2 separate regions of the Homo sapiens genome follow, and region 2 is linked to region 1. The links are contacts of gene promoters, found by promoter capture Hi-C in human tissues and cell types (Jung and others, 2019). All regions are on one chromosome and are shown on one strand. The core of a region is centred on a gene start or on the middle of the fragment in contact, and the rest is flanking DNA. Distances in the headings are between cores, read along the strand shown. Region 1 holds the start of TMEM229A (transmembrane protein 229A). Region 2 has its middle 9.0 kb from the start of WASL-DT.

Evidence for each region. Contacts are between HindIII fragments. The study calls those that stand out against the background at their distance.
Region 2: a fragment that was not itself captured here is called in contact with the fragment with the promoter of TMEM229A in region 1 in 1 of the 25 tissues and cell types used here (mesenchymal stem cells).

The regions. Positions count from the first base shown.
Region 1 is chr7:124,030,431-124,036,666 of GRCh38, forward strand. TMEM229A (transmembrane protein 229A) reads right to left here and starts at 2,637. Exons shown (of 1, transcript NM_001136002.2): 1 at 491-2,637. The coding sequence starts at 2,573. The coding sequence ends at 1,431. The HindIII fragment of the contact is 14,772 bases long and covers 1-6,236 here.
Region 2 is chr7:123,755,042-123,761,277 of GRCh38, forward strand. No RefSeq gene overlaps it. Among named protein-coding and RNA genes, the nearest start is that of WASL-DT, 9.0 kb to the left of the region's middle. The HindIII fragment of the contact is 6,870 bases long and covers 1-6,038 here.

The DNA.
Region 1 (6,236 bases), core at 1,387-3,886:
TAACACTCATAACTATGTCTAAGTTAATCAAATTTAAATTATTTTCTACTCCTGTAGCAAACATTTTTTGAAAACAGAAAAAAGTCCCTTTTTACAGCATAGGCTCGCTGATAATTTGAATAGAAAACCACTCATTTCTATACATGAAATTTTCCTGATTGTCTTTGTAATAAAAACTGAGAGGATATTCGTCATCCCTGGCTGAGCTGCACTGAATTCTACTCTTTTATACATGTAATAAAACAGCAAACAACATCAAAATACATTATTAATTAGGCATGAATTTCTTAAAATGGTTTACATCATCTCATTTAACTTCAGAGCTTGCAGACATTAACAGTAAGTCACCACAAAGCTACCATTGATTTATAATGCACATTACCACATCAAGCCTGGCCCAAGGACTCTGGGCCCAGAAGGAAAAACAGCCATGGCAGAAATATAATGAAAACATATCTGTATTCACAGAAAACAATTAGGCTTAATGTAATTAGAGTGAACATTCAGGTTCATTTTATTCAAAGGTAATGTTTCTGCCCTTGAAGTTCCATGTAGAAAAGGGTCCTTGGAGTTAGAACACTGTGGAAGGTGATATAATTTCACTTGGCCCTCGGCTATGTAAGGTAAACATTTTACATTATTGCACAGTAACAAAAATTTACAGCCATAGATAACACAGGATCTGATCAACGTTAACACACCTGCTGTTTAAGGCTTACCCACATTGGAAAGCAATCATTTCCAGGATGGAGATCAAATATCTTAACACAGTGTCACCTGTGTGAGTTGCTAGAAAAGACCTCTCATTTAAAAATCTGTTCATAGAACGTGCTTTCACATTTTTCAGCCTCTTTTCACTTGTGTGCTAGACGGAGGCACTTTAAGAGCTATTAACTGTAGTCTCAAGAGTACAAGACATTGAGTTTCTTCAGTCATTGGTAAATATGGCAAGGAATTAAAATGAAATTAGATTAAAAAGAAAGTAAAACAAATCACTGAATCAGAAAATTTAGCCAAATCTTGTAAAAATCACTGGTCTCTGATTTAAAGATCCCCCCCCGCCAAAAAAAAAAAAATTAGTAGCTGTCACTCATCTGTTGCCAGATGGGTAAACACTACTACATCATTCTGATGTTAAGGTATAACGGTTTTGCTGTTTGGGCGTGTAAACGTTTGGGCTTGTAAATGTTTTAAAACATTGGCAAATAAAGTACTTTGAATTATGTTTCGAGTAGTGTTTCAAAGTATATTATACACGGGTTTCAAATAGAAAAACTAAAAGGTGGAATAAAACAATTTGGAAGAGTTTAGTAAAGCGTATAAAAATTAAAGGACTAAAAAACCCACTTCATTTTAAATGTGTAAAAATAAATCGCATCCATTCGTGGGAATCCAGTGACTTTTTCCTTTTCTTTCTTTCTTTTTTGGTTTTAGTTAGCTGGTACGTACTGCACCCTCCACAACACGTTGGAAATTAGGTCCTGGTACACACTAAGGAATATCCAGCCAGGTAAATACATCAGGGTGATGAGGCCCATAAAATTGAGCGGGTAGTGAGAATAGTCCCAGGAACAAGCCCCGCACGTGCGGAGTCCCAGACCCCAGGACAGCTCCCACACGTAGATGAAGATCACGTAGATGGGCACCCGCTTCCAAGTGCCCCAACCGCGGCTGTAGTGGAGGTGGAAGTAGAGCTTTTCCACCACGAAACTGCAGCTGCCGTACATAAAGAAGGACCAGAGCGACGTGTGGCCGCTGGTTGTCCCGTCCCCCTGCCCCAGTACGTTGAAGAAGAAGGTGAAGAAGATCTCATCCAGAAAGCCGTGCATTCCGAAGAAAAGAAAGCGGGGTAGGTCGGGCAGCCCCTGGCTGGGGGCTCCCCCGGCGCCCCTGGGGCCACGGGGTCGTCGCCGCCGGGCTCCGGCCGCAGTAGGGACCCGGGCGCCGGGAGGGACGGGGAGCGCGCCCCTCCGCTGCTGCTGCTGCTGCTGCTGCTGCTGTTGCTGCTGCCGCCGCCTCTGTCGCCCGTACCGCAAGCGCAGGAAGCGCTTCAGGAACACTTGGCAGTGGTAGAGCGCCAGCACGTACTGCAGCGCCAGGTCCAGCGCCCCTGGCGCCACCGCGACCCCCGCCCCGCCGCCCAGGCTGAGTAGTAGCGCCTGGCCCGCTAGGGTCTGCAGCCCCACGTGGGCCGAGGGGTAGAGGAGGAAATTGAAGACGAAGGCGTTGGGACAGCGCCGCTGCTGCAGGTACACCTTCTCCAGGGCGAAATGGGTGAGCGAGTGCAGCAGGCAGCGGTAGGGCGAGGAGAAGCCTAGCATCCGCAGGTCCGGGCTGCGGGCGAAGCGCCGGGCCGAGGACACCAGCACGTCCAGGGTGATCCCGTGCATCCCGTAGAAGTAGAGGCGCATCCAGGCGGGCAGCGTGGCGCTCTCAGCCGGCGCTTCAGCAGTGGACAGCGGCTCCGGGCAGCCGGCTGCCGCCTCGCTTCCTGGCCCGCCAGGGGCCCCCGGACGCCGCGCCGCGCCGCCCCTCCGTGCGGGGCCCTCGCTGTCCACGTCGCTCCCCGCCATGGGCTCGGAGGCTGTCCGAACGCCCGAGGCTGCACCGCCGCCGCTGCCGGGTGCGCGGAGCTGCAGGGCCGAGCGGCCGAGCCCCGCGCCGCCTCCTGGCCGCTGCCGGCCCCCGGGGGGCGCGCAGGGAGCTCCGTCCCGGCCGCGGTCCCGCGGCAGCGGGGGCTGATGCACTCAGGGGACTCGCGGGCCGCCCGGCTAGCGGAATCCCCCCGCCGTGGCCCCGCTGCGCCCTCCCTTCCAGTCCCGGGCGAGGTGCCGCCCGCCCGCGCCCGCTCTAGCTCTCACCCTGCGCGGCCTAACGGGCACCGCGGCCCAGCCAGGGGAGGCGGCGCCGGGGCTGTGAGGGGAAATGCAGAAGCTTGTGGAAGCCCCATCCCCTCCGCTGCTTAGCCCCGCGCCTCCGCTGCAGGCTCTGGGAACGTAACGCGAGCAGCGGCGGCCCTGCCCCCGCCCTGCCAATGCCCCTCTCCGCCTGCCTCGACCTCTCCCGCCTTCTCAGGCCGCCCCCACGCGCCCGCCCGCCGCACCGAGTCCCACAGGGTCTGCTCGGGAAGGCCCGGCCCTGCTTCTTCCTCCCGGTGCGCCCACTCAACACAGGGGCTCCGGTCGTGCGGGGGGCGCTTGCTGGGCGGAGGCACTGAGTGGAGAAACACCTAACAGGTGTGACTGCAAGTTGATGGGCATTCCCTGCATCGCGGCAATCAGGGCCAGGGCCTGGCTGGCGGAGACGAATGGCTGAGTGCCACGGGCTGGAGGCTGGGCTCAAGACCAAAATATGGTGCTGTATACTTAATGTTCTTATTCAAAGCCAGCTGTGTCCCAGTCATAGAGAATAAACTCGAGACTCCACGCCTGCCCGCCCCTGCGTTACCCTCCATCTAAATTGCTGCCGCGGGGCCTGATCCACTTTTCCAATCTATTTCTTGGCCCATCTACTTTTCTGGGTTTACTCAAGGCCAAGGACAGAGATTCGATGTCCCCCAGAATTTGTGAAATGATTTCAGGCCAGTTGGGTTGGGTTGGGGTGTGGAGAAGAGGAAATGCTTTGTTCTAGCTACTGTGGGGTCTCAGGTGGAGAATAGTACCTCGTCCTGGCACACCCCGCTGCTGGGTTCTTCTTTTGGCAGAACTAGGTCATCCCAGAAATGGAGAGTGACATAAAGGGCCAGGGTTTATCTTTTTCTATCTTTTCCCTCCCTCCCTTCACCTCTCCCCTCTTCTCCCTTCCCTCATTCCCTACTTCCTCCCCTCCCCTCCCCTCCCCTCCAATCCCTCCCTCCCTCTCTCTCTCCCTTCCTCCCTCTTTATCTCCTTCCTTCCTTCCTTCCTTCCTTCCTTCCTTCCTTCCTTCCTTCCTTGGTTGAGAGAGTGGAAGGGGTTCAGAATGTTGGTGTGTTGGTTCCACCATTCTCTCCAATTTTGAATCAGTCTTGGAACTGGAAAGAGCCTCGGGGGTGAATTATACCGATTACCTCCCTCTTTCTCCTCCTTCCCCCGAAATTCATGTGCGGATAGATAACAGTTCTGTGTTAGAGTTTAGATCCTCCCTTGATGAAAGGCTTTCTGGGGAATTTTTTTTTTTCCTTCTGGCGAATAGACATAATGAGGCTGATCCTCTATTTCTAAGGCAACCTCCTCCTCACGCTGTCTCCTTGCCTATTTCAGCCCCTCACGTTCCAATCTGTGGTAGCTAAGTTGACTGTGAATTAAGAGAAACTTTCATGTCAGGGACAGGAATGTCAGGAAGTTTTCATGTGAGGGACAGAAATGTCAGGTAGCAGGTTCATCAAACTTGTTGCAAACCAGGTTTGATCTAGTTGCCCAAGTGCCTGAGCAAATACATTGAAGGGAAATAATGTAAACATTTTTGTGAGCACCTTGCTATGCCTACACTGGGAAAATAAAGGGTTATAAGATGCTCTCTTTAAGAAGTGTGTAATCTAGTTAAAATGATAATAATCTATTATGCCTTCATAAAGCCTACTTATGATTATTATCAATAATAACTGATCGTGATCATTTAATAGTAAATACTAGATGTTTGTACTACTAGATTAATGTTTATTTTGAGTTTTTATTTCATTAAATAAACTCAATCCTGGGCCCAATTTATCAGATATTACAAACAAATGCACTCTTTCTCCATAACTGCTATTTAGACAACGGAAAGCACTTCTTCATAACACCATAAATGTAGTCATTCAAACATGTATATGCTAACTTGCTATATTAAACCTGAATTGTTTTCAAATAGCAAATTAAACTTCAAGGGCCCAAGTCTTCTATTTATTCTAACTTTTCTTAAGGATGCAAGGAAAATCTTGAAAATCTGTCGTCCAACCTAGAATTCATCCCAGGGAGTGTAGGAAAATCTTTTGGATTAAAAAAAAATTAGAGCTTTCATTTCTGTATTTTTAATTTCAGCATTTAAAAATTTCTATTTTGTATACCTTATATATTTTATAAATTACACAGTATAATAGAACATGTATAAAATTTATGTGTGTGTATATATACATATGAAACATTAAATTTTTTAATGAGGAGTATTCAATAAAAAGTTTGGGCTCACTACTGTCCTCACAGTAGTTCTCTATCAAGTGGGTTAGACTACTAAAAATCTTCTCATTCTTTTGGTTCTTTTTCTGAAATGGTTTTCCATTTTTCTTAGGAGAAATCATACAAAATATAAATGAACAGTTAGAAAAGCATAGTAGAAAGTGCAGCTATGATCTGTTATTCTCTCCATGTTTCTTTTATATTTTCATTGTGGCCTCTTAGTTAGACCATTTCGGAATGTGAGTGAAACTAACTTAAAAAAGTAAACAAACAGACAAACAAAAAAAACTCGGCATAAGACAAAGTATAAGAAAAATGCTCATGGTATATATCACCTTTAATTCTTTTTTTTGGTCTCATTTAAAAAATCAGTATTCTGTGCCATTCTTACCCCAGCAATGATGCCAACCTTTGTTTTTGCTTTATCATCACATTGTTCTTTTTGTTTTACGTGCTTCATTGCTATATTTCTAAAACTATTCTTCATTTTAAAACTGCAGGATAGCTTTAGTGATCATCATCATTTTATATTAAAAATCCTCACATTAGAGTCTCTATGAACATAAAAAGATTAAAAGCATTTCTTGCTGGTCTTTGCAGCTGTATGCTGTCGGGGCCAAGGGAAAACCTTCCTCTTTGCTCTGTGAATGTTCACTGAAAATCATGGACAAGAGGCAGATTAATTGGAGAAAAGGCTTACAAATTAATGTGTACATGGAGGCCCTCAGAGTGAAGACCTGAAGATACAGGGGGAATTGTCTATTCTTTTGCTTAGGTTCAACAAAGTATGGACAGTTGTGTCTGTACATTTTGTCCAAATGTGATTGGAAAAAAGAGTATGATCTAAGGCTAACAGACTGAGTGGGGAAAACTCAGCAAGGCCTGTCTGTCGAGAATCTTCTTGGCCTCCCTGAGCATACATTCTCTTCTTCTGGGTATGGAGCAGACACTCTCTGGAATGGGGATCTTATGACCATAGTCAAAAAAAGGTAGGTTGGATAACTTCTTGATGGCCAGTGTTTACACAGAAAGGCAGAGGGAAAGTTAGAGTAATAGTTTTAGGTTTTTGGCTGGCTTTGAGGAAAAGGGGTTTTGGTGACT
Region 2 (6,236 bases), core at 1,354-3,853, 280 kb before region 1:
TCCATACAAAGTCTTTAATAAGAACTGTGTTTTTCCCCCACATTAACTAGGTTACTTGTCCTTAGAAAGTTGGTAATGGTTGAATGGGTTAGTACTATATGTTCATACACGTTGATATCATTTATCTATAAATAGCTATTTAGCTGATTCATTAAAGCAAATTGAAGTAAGTCATTTTGATATAATAAATTGTCAAAGTCAGTGATATGCAGGCTTTTCATTTGTAAATTGTAATTACTTTTTAAATGTTTGTCTCCTACATTAGCCTCAAAGCTCTCTAAGAGCTGGTATCATGTCTTATTCATCTTTGTATCTTTTTAGTCTTAACATTGAACCTATACATTATTCAACGTATATTTGTAGATCAAATGACCACCTTTGATTCAAATAAAAACATATGAATTTTTATCAGGTACAAAGATAGTTACACAGGATCTGAGATCAAATAAAGAGAAACCACAGTCTTGCCCAAACTCTTCCACACAGTACTAAGCATGTGGTATTCTGAGAGCACCTGGAGAGAAAACACAATACATAAGAAACTGCACACAACCTAATGGTAGCAGGAGCAGGGCTTGTGACAACAGCAATAGAAAGGAATGACCTCCACTTGAGATGACCCAGCAACCTAATTCAAGTCCAGAGGATAAAGTGATTTTTTTTTTTTCCTCCTGAGTGAGCTCAGGTGTCCAGGGGCCTAGTCTGAGAAAAGAAATGTGTGTCATATTTTAGGGATTTGGGGGAATAATAGTTTTTAGCATGAAGTGATTGCAAAAACACTAAGTCAAGGCTTCACTTGGTCTTAGAAAGCAACTCTGGAAGCATATGGAAGCAAGCTTAGTATCCAGGAGCGTTGGAAACTAAAGTGAAAATAACCAGGACAAAAAATAGGCTGGCATCCCAATGGACTGGGGGAGACTGGCCAGCAGTTCTCATAGCAGCATTAGCATCACATGTTAGAAATGCACATTCTCAGGCCCCACTCTTGACCCACTGAACCTGAAACTCTGGGGATAGGACTCATCAGTCTATGTTTTAAGAAGCCCTCCTGGTGATTCCAATAAGTAGACCTTCAAGACGACCTCCAGGGGATGAAATTTACCACCCCCACCAGCCACCTTCCACCCTTTCCCAAGCATATAAGGCTTATGGCATTACACAAACTATGTTTGAATCATATTCTTTTGAGGGGACGGAACTTGTAATGAACCACTGGGATTTATTCTTGTCAGTTTAAGACCTAGATAGGATAGAGTCTGTAGGTGGAATGTCTTCATTGTTCACACCTGGCAAAATAGCTGTAAGGGCAAGCAGGTATTTATTAGCTATAGCTTTTCTGATCTGAGTTCCGATAGTAACTAGCCATGAAATCTTACTAAAATCACTCAACTTCATCATGCTTCTCTTTACTCATTTGTAAAATGAAAGGAATGACTTAATGATTGCTAAGGTCCTTCTCAGCTCAAAATTATATAATCAATCCCATGTATTTTGGATTTTAAAAAAATCCTGCATTTTAAAAAGCAATGGGTAAAAGGCAGTGCATAAGGGAATATAAACAATTTCATGGCTTTTTCACTATTACAAATCCTTTTTTGGTGGTATGAAAATGAATATATAAGCCTTATCATAAGCCTACTCTATTGAAAGAGGGATTGGTAAAGAATACAATCCCCAGAACATAAAAATCCTGCTTTTAGTTACCTCAGAGCAGGAAGGAAGGGTAATTGGTGACTGTGGTTTCATGGAATTATTGATCTAATATTTGCCATTTATATTCAAAACTGGATTGCATGGTACTTGATAGTTGTTACATCAGTCATGATTCTCAGTTCCCTGTGGCTGGAAGTTAGTAGTATTCATTGATTTTTTTGTTTTGTTTTTTAATAGAGAAGGAAACACATTGAACATGCAAACAACTTAGAGTCGATGGTCACATTAGAATAAGTTCCTCATTCCTAGTTTAGGGAGTCATTCCTCTCAATATCTTTACTTAGAATCAGTTTAAAAATTAAATTACATATTCGCTTTCTCACATTCAAATTTCCTTTTAGGAAGATAGAATATTGGCACTTTTCTTTCATCTTGATCCTCTTCATACTGAAGCTATTGTGTGTTTATTATATGTTCTGTTGGACTGGAGCTTTGAACTGATGAAAGAGGAAAGCTATAACAAGCATCAGGGCTGACTTGGTATGTTGACTCAGTTCCCACATAATGATGGTATCTATATGCATGCACATTATAATGTTCTGACACACAGAAGGAAAACGTGTTCCCCTGTCTCAATTTCCTGTTTTAATGCAAGTCCATACAACACCCCAATCTTCCTCAGGATCTCCAAGCACCCTTGGATTTATTGTGTCATAAGGGACAATTCACACACTACCTCACCTCAGCCTGAACTTACTAGAGAGTCTTCTTTTGCTCTCAGTTCCATTGAGAGATAGCAGCATTGTGATCATTGGACAGTGTGATTGAAACAAGGCACTCAACTGTGCCTTCTTGTCATTATCATCCAGAAAGGCCCACCAAGCCTTGTTCTTGCTGGAAAGGCACGAAAGGAATAGCAACATGTCCTTCATTTTGAAGCACATATTTCTGCATGCCTCAGAATAACGGACCCCCAGAAACACCCCTGAGGTATCAGGCTCCTATATTTCATGGCATTTCTATCCCCCAGCATTCATTTATGTGACCAAGGACATAGTGTACTTGCAACTTCCTGCTCTACCGGTCATTTCAGCATGATGTTATTTTGTACAATGAGCTAGTCTGATATCAAGTGGAATAGGAAGATGGTCTAGGATAATTGCCCTCTGCTTAAAAATGAGCTGACCTGTGAGGCACACAACATCCTTCCCATAAATTCCCTTTTGCTTTAGCTAGCCTGGGTCAGATTCTGTTATTTACAAAAACTCTAGGTGATTCTGAACTGGAAACCCTAGGTATTCTAAAATTTGTACCATGAAGGTGGTTACAAGCAACAGATCTTTCAGAAAACTGGGTCATTTGGCACTGTTTACCTGGCTATACTGGAGCAAGAGGTGGTGAAACTCTCATTTATATTCCAAGATGGGAAACTAGCATCAGACAATTACATTACTGCCTCTGGTTATTAGGATCTAGAAACTTCTGAGGTTCTAGAAAGCTTTATGGCCAGGATCAGCAAACTACACTCCACCTATCCTGTTGCCTGCTTTTGTAAATAGAGCTTTTTGGGGGGGACATAGCCATGACCATTCTTTCAGTATTGTCTATGACTGCTTTCATGCTACAACAGCAGAGTTGAGTAGTTGTACCAGAAACCTTATGACCTGCAAAGCCTCAAATGTTTATTATCTGGCCATTTACAGAAAAAGTTTGCCAACCCTTGCTTTAGGTAACTGCATAGTTTTTGCCATCGAATAATAGAAGGGTGAGGAATTCAAGAATTGTGAGATAGCATTAGATAAATTAACCAGTAAGAATGAATGAATGTTGCCTCTGAGGATAGCCTGCTACAGGGATATTTTATGATAATTCTGAAAAAAATATATCCCTGATAGTTACAGGACTGAGACAGCCAAAAGTGAAACTCATGATTTGATCCAGGGCTGCTAAACTAATAATTTATGAATTAAAGTATCTTAAATACTTCATAATGAGATAGGAGATGACCATGAAAATAATTAATAACAAAGACAGTCTATCTTTGTGTAAATTTCTTATAAGAATCATTAAACTTAGGATGTTACTTTTTTTAAAACAAAACAGACAACTGTTCAAGTGTGCTGATCTTTCCAGTGACAAGAAATCACTGTTAGTAGATACTTTTGAAAAAAGAAAAAGAAAGCACACATTTACTATGTGGCTTCAAGGTTTTTAACCATGAGTGAGAAAGTAACTACTTCTCAAAAGAAACTTACATTGTCAAAAGCATGTTTTGAAAACAGTCATTTGGAATCTTGTCCATCATTATGTGACTTTAAAGTTCAAAATGATAAAATATGTCACCTGTAAAAACATGTATTTCTAAACTTAAAAACAATCTTCAAACCTGTTTAAAATTTTTCCAAGTAAAAAAATTTTGGTGTTTTCTTATTTGCTGAAAATATGGAAATGAAATACTTCTCAGTTTGCAAGAAAATTACTATCAAAATTTTAACAAATTTATAACAGGTGAATACAATTGAAAAACATAAGTATTATGCTCAACTAAGCAAATTCATGTGTATTTCTCCCAGGCGGGTGTATATTCATGTGTTTTGTAAAGCGTCCTTTTCAGTTATGGCCACTAAAATATAGTATAGATAAAACTCACCTTATAGCAAAACCTTTGGATCCCATGTCAAAAAGTGTTAAGCCAAATTTTCAAAAATTACGGAGCATATTCAATCACATTGCATGCATTAAAAACTATTTTCTTAATATTTTAGGGCAAGCAAACAATTGTTTTGTTTTACTATTAATTTATTGGCCTTTTTACAGAAACTTCTTTTGGTATCATTGATGTTCTTTATGGTTTTCTGTTTTTTACTTATTTGATCTGTGATCATTAAATATGATGCTAGATGCCATTTATTAAATTGAGGAAGTTCTTTTCTATCCCATCTTCCTGTGAGGTTTTCCTCATAAATTTTGTCAAATGCTTTTTCTGTTTATGTTAAATAAGCTCATATTTTGTCTCCTGTTTAGTCTGTTGATACAGTGAATTATACTGATTTTTATTTTTATTTTTATTATACTTTAAGTTCTGGGATACACGTGCAGAAGTGCAGGTTTATTACATAGGTATACATGTCCCATGGTGGTTTGCTGCACCCATCAACCCGTCGTCTACATTAGGTATTTCTCCTAATGCTATCCCTCCCCTTGCCCCCCACCACCCCCCACAGGTCCCAGTGTGTGATGTTCCCCTCCCTGTGCCCATATGTTCTCATTGTTCAACTCCCACTTATGAGTGAGAACATGCGGTGTTTGATTTTCTGTTCCTGGAATTACACTGATTTTAAAATGTTGAAACAGGCTTGCATTCCTGGGATAAACCCCAGTTGATCATGATATATGATCCCTTTTTAAATATTGCTTAATTCCAATTGTTGATAATCTGTTAAGGGTTTTTGTGCCTATAAAATATTGGTCTAAGAGGATAGATCTCCTCTTCCAGCTCTAACAGCTGAAGGACTTTTCTGATGCTGATTTCCCAGATTTCCAAGTAATTCCAATTCCTCCACGCCCTGACTCTAAACACTGTCATTTCATGTTGAGCTCCCTTATAGTGACCACTGTTAAGATCATCATCTCCCCCAATGCAAAGATCTGCCTTCTGAACCAGAACTTTTCCACAGTGCCTGAAGCTGCACATGCCACCAGTTCCTGTTCATTCCCAGTGGTGAACTGATTTTCAGTTATTTCCCAGATGGTCATAGTGTTCTGTATCCTAATGTAGTTAGCACTCTCTCAACATGGAATTCAGTAATTCTTTGATAGCCTAGGAATTCTTCAAGTGGCAATAAAGGTAACTCAAGCACCCATTAGGTCTGGCATCTCTGTACTCACTGAGCGAAGCACTTTGCTCTTCCTAAGGCCTTCTGCTTTGCTGCGCTCTACATTTCCTTGTTTCCTTTTGCTCCATCAGTGATTCTGAGTCCCTTCTTGCCTATATACATCGTTTTGTTTTCTCCATTGGCTCTTTCTGGTCAATGTATAAATATGTTCAGATATCTCTCAAATTAAAAACTATTTTCATTAAAATAATCAATTTAAATAAGTAAATACCCTGACTGTTACTAATTCGTATCTTTCCTCTTCACAGACAACCTTCTAAAAACAGTAATCTATACTCATTGTCTACTTTCCTTTCTCTTTCACTCATCAAGCAATGTGAGCTTGTTTCCATCCCCAATATTTTAATATTGGGGGTGACATCTAATATTTAATGTGACATTTTTGTCACATAACTAAATGTGAATTGGACATTTTCTTCTTTGCAAGCTCTCTACCATCAATCAATATGGTGTCTATCGGTCCTATGTAGGGTGTCTCTATCCTGCTTATATGATCACTCATTTGCCATTCTCTATGGCTCTGCATCTTAAATATTAATTCCACCCAGAGTTCTATCATTTTGCCTCATTTATTTGGCCTTGAATAGAATAGGGGTCCCCAGAAGATTTAGTGAATAGGTGAATTTTAATTTTTTTTTTTTTTTTTTTTGAGACAGAGTCTCGCTCTGTTGCCCAGGCTTGAGTGCA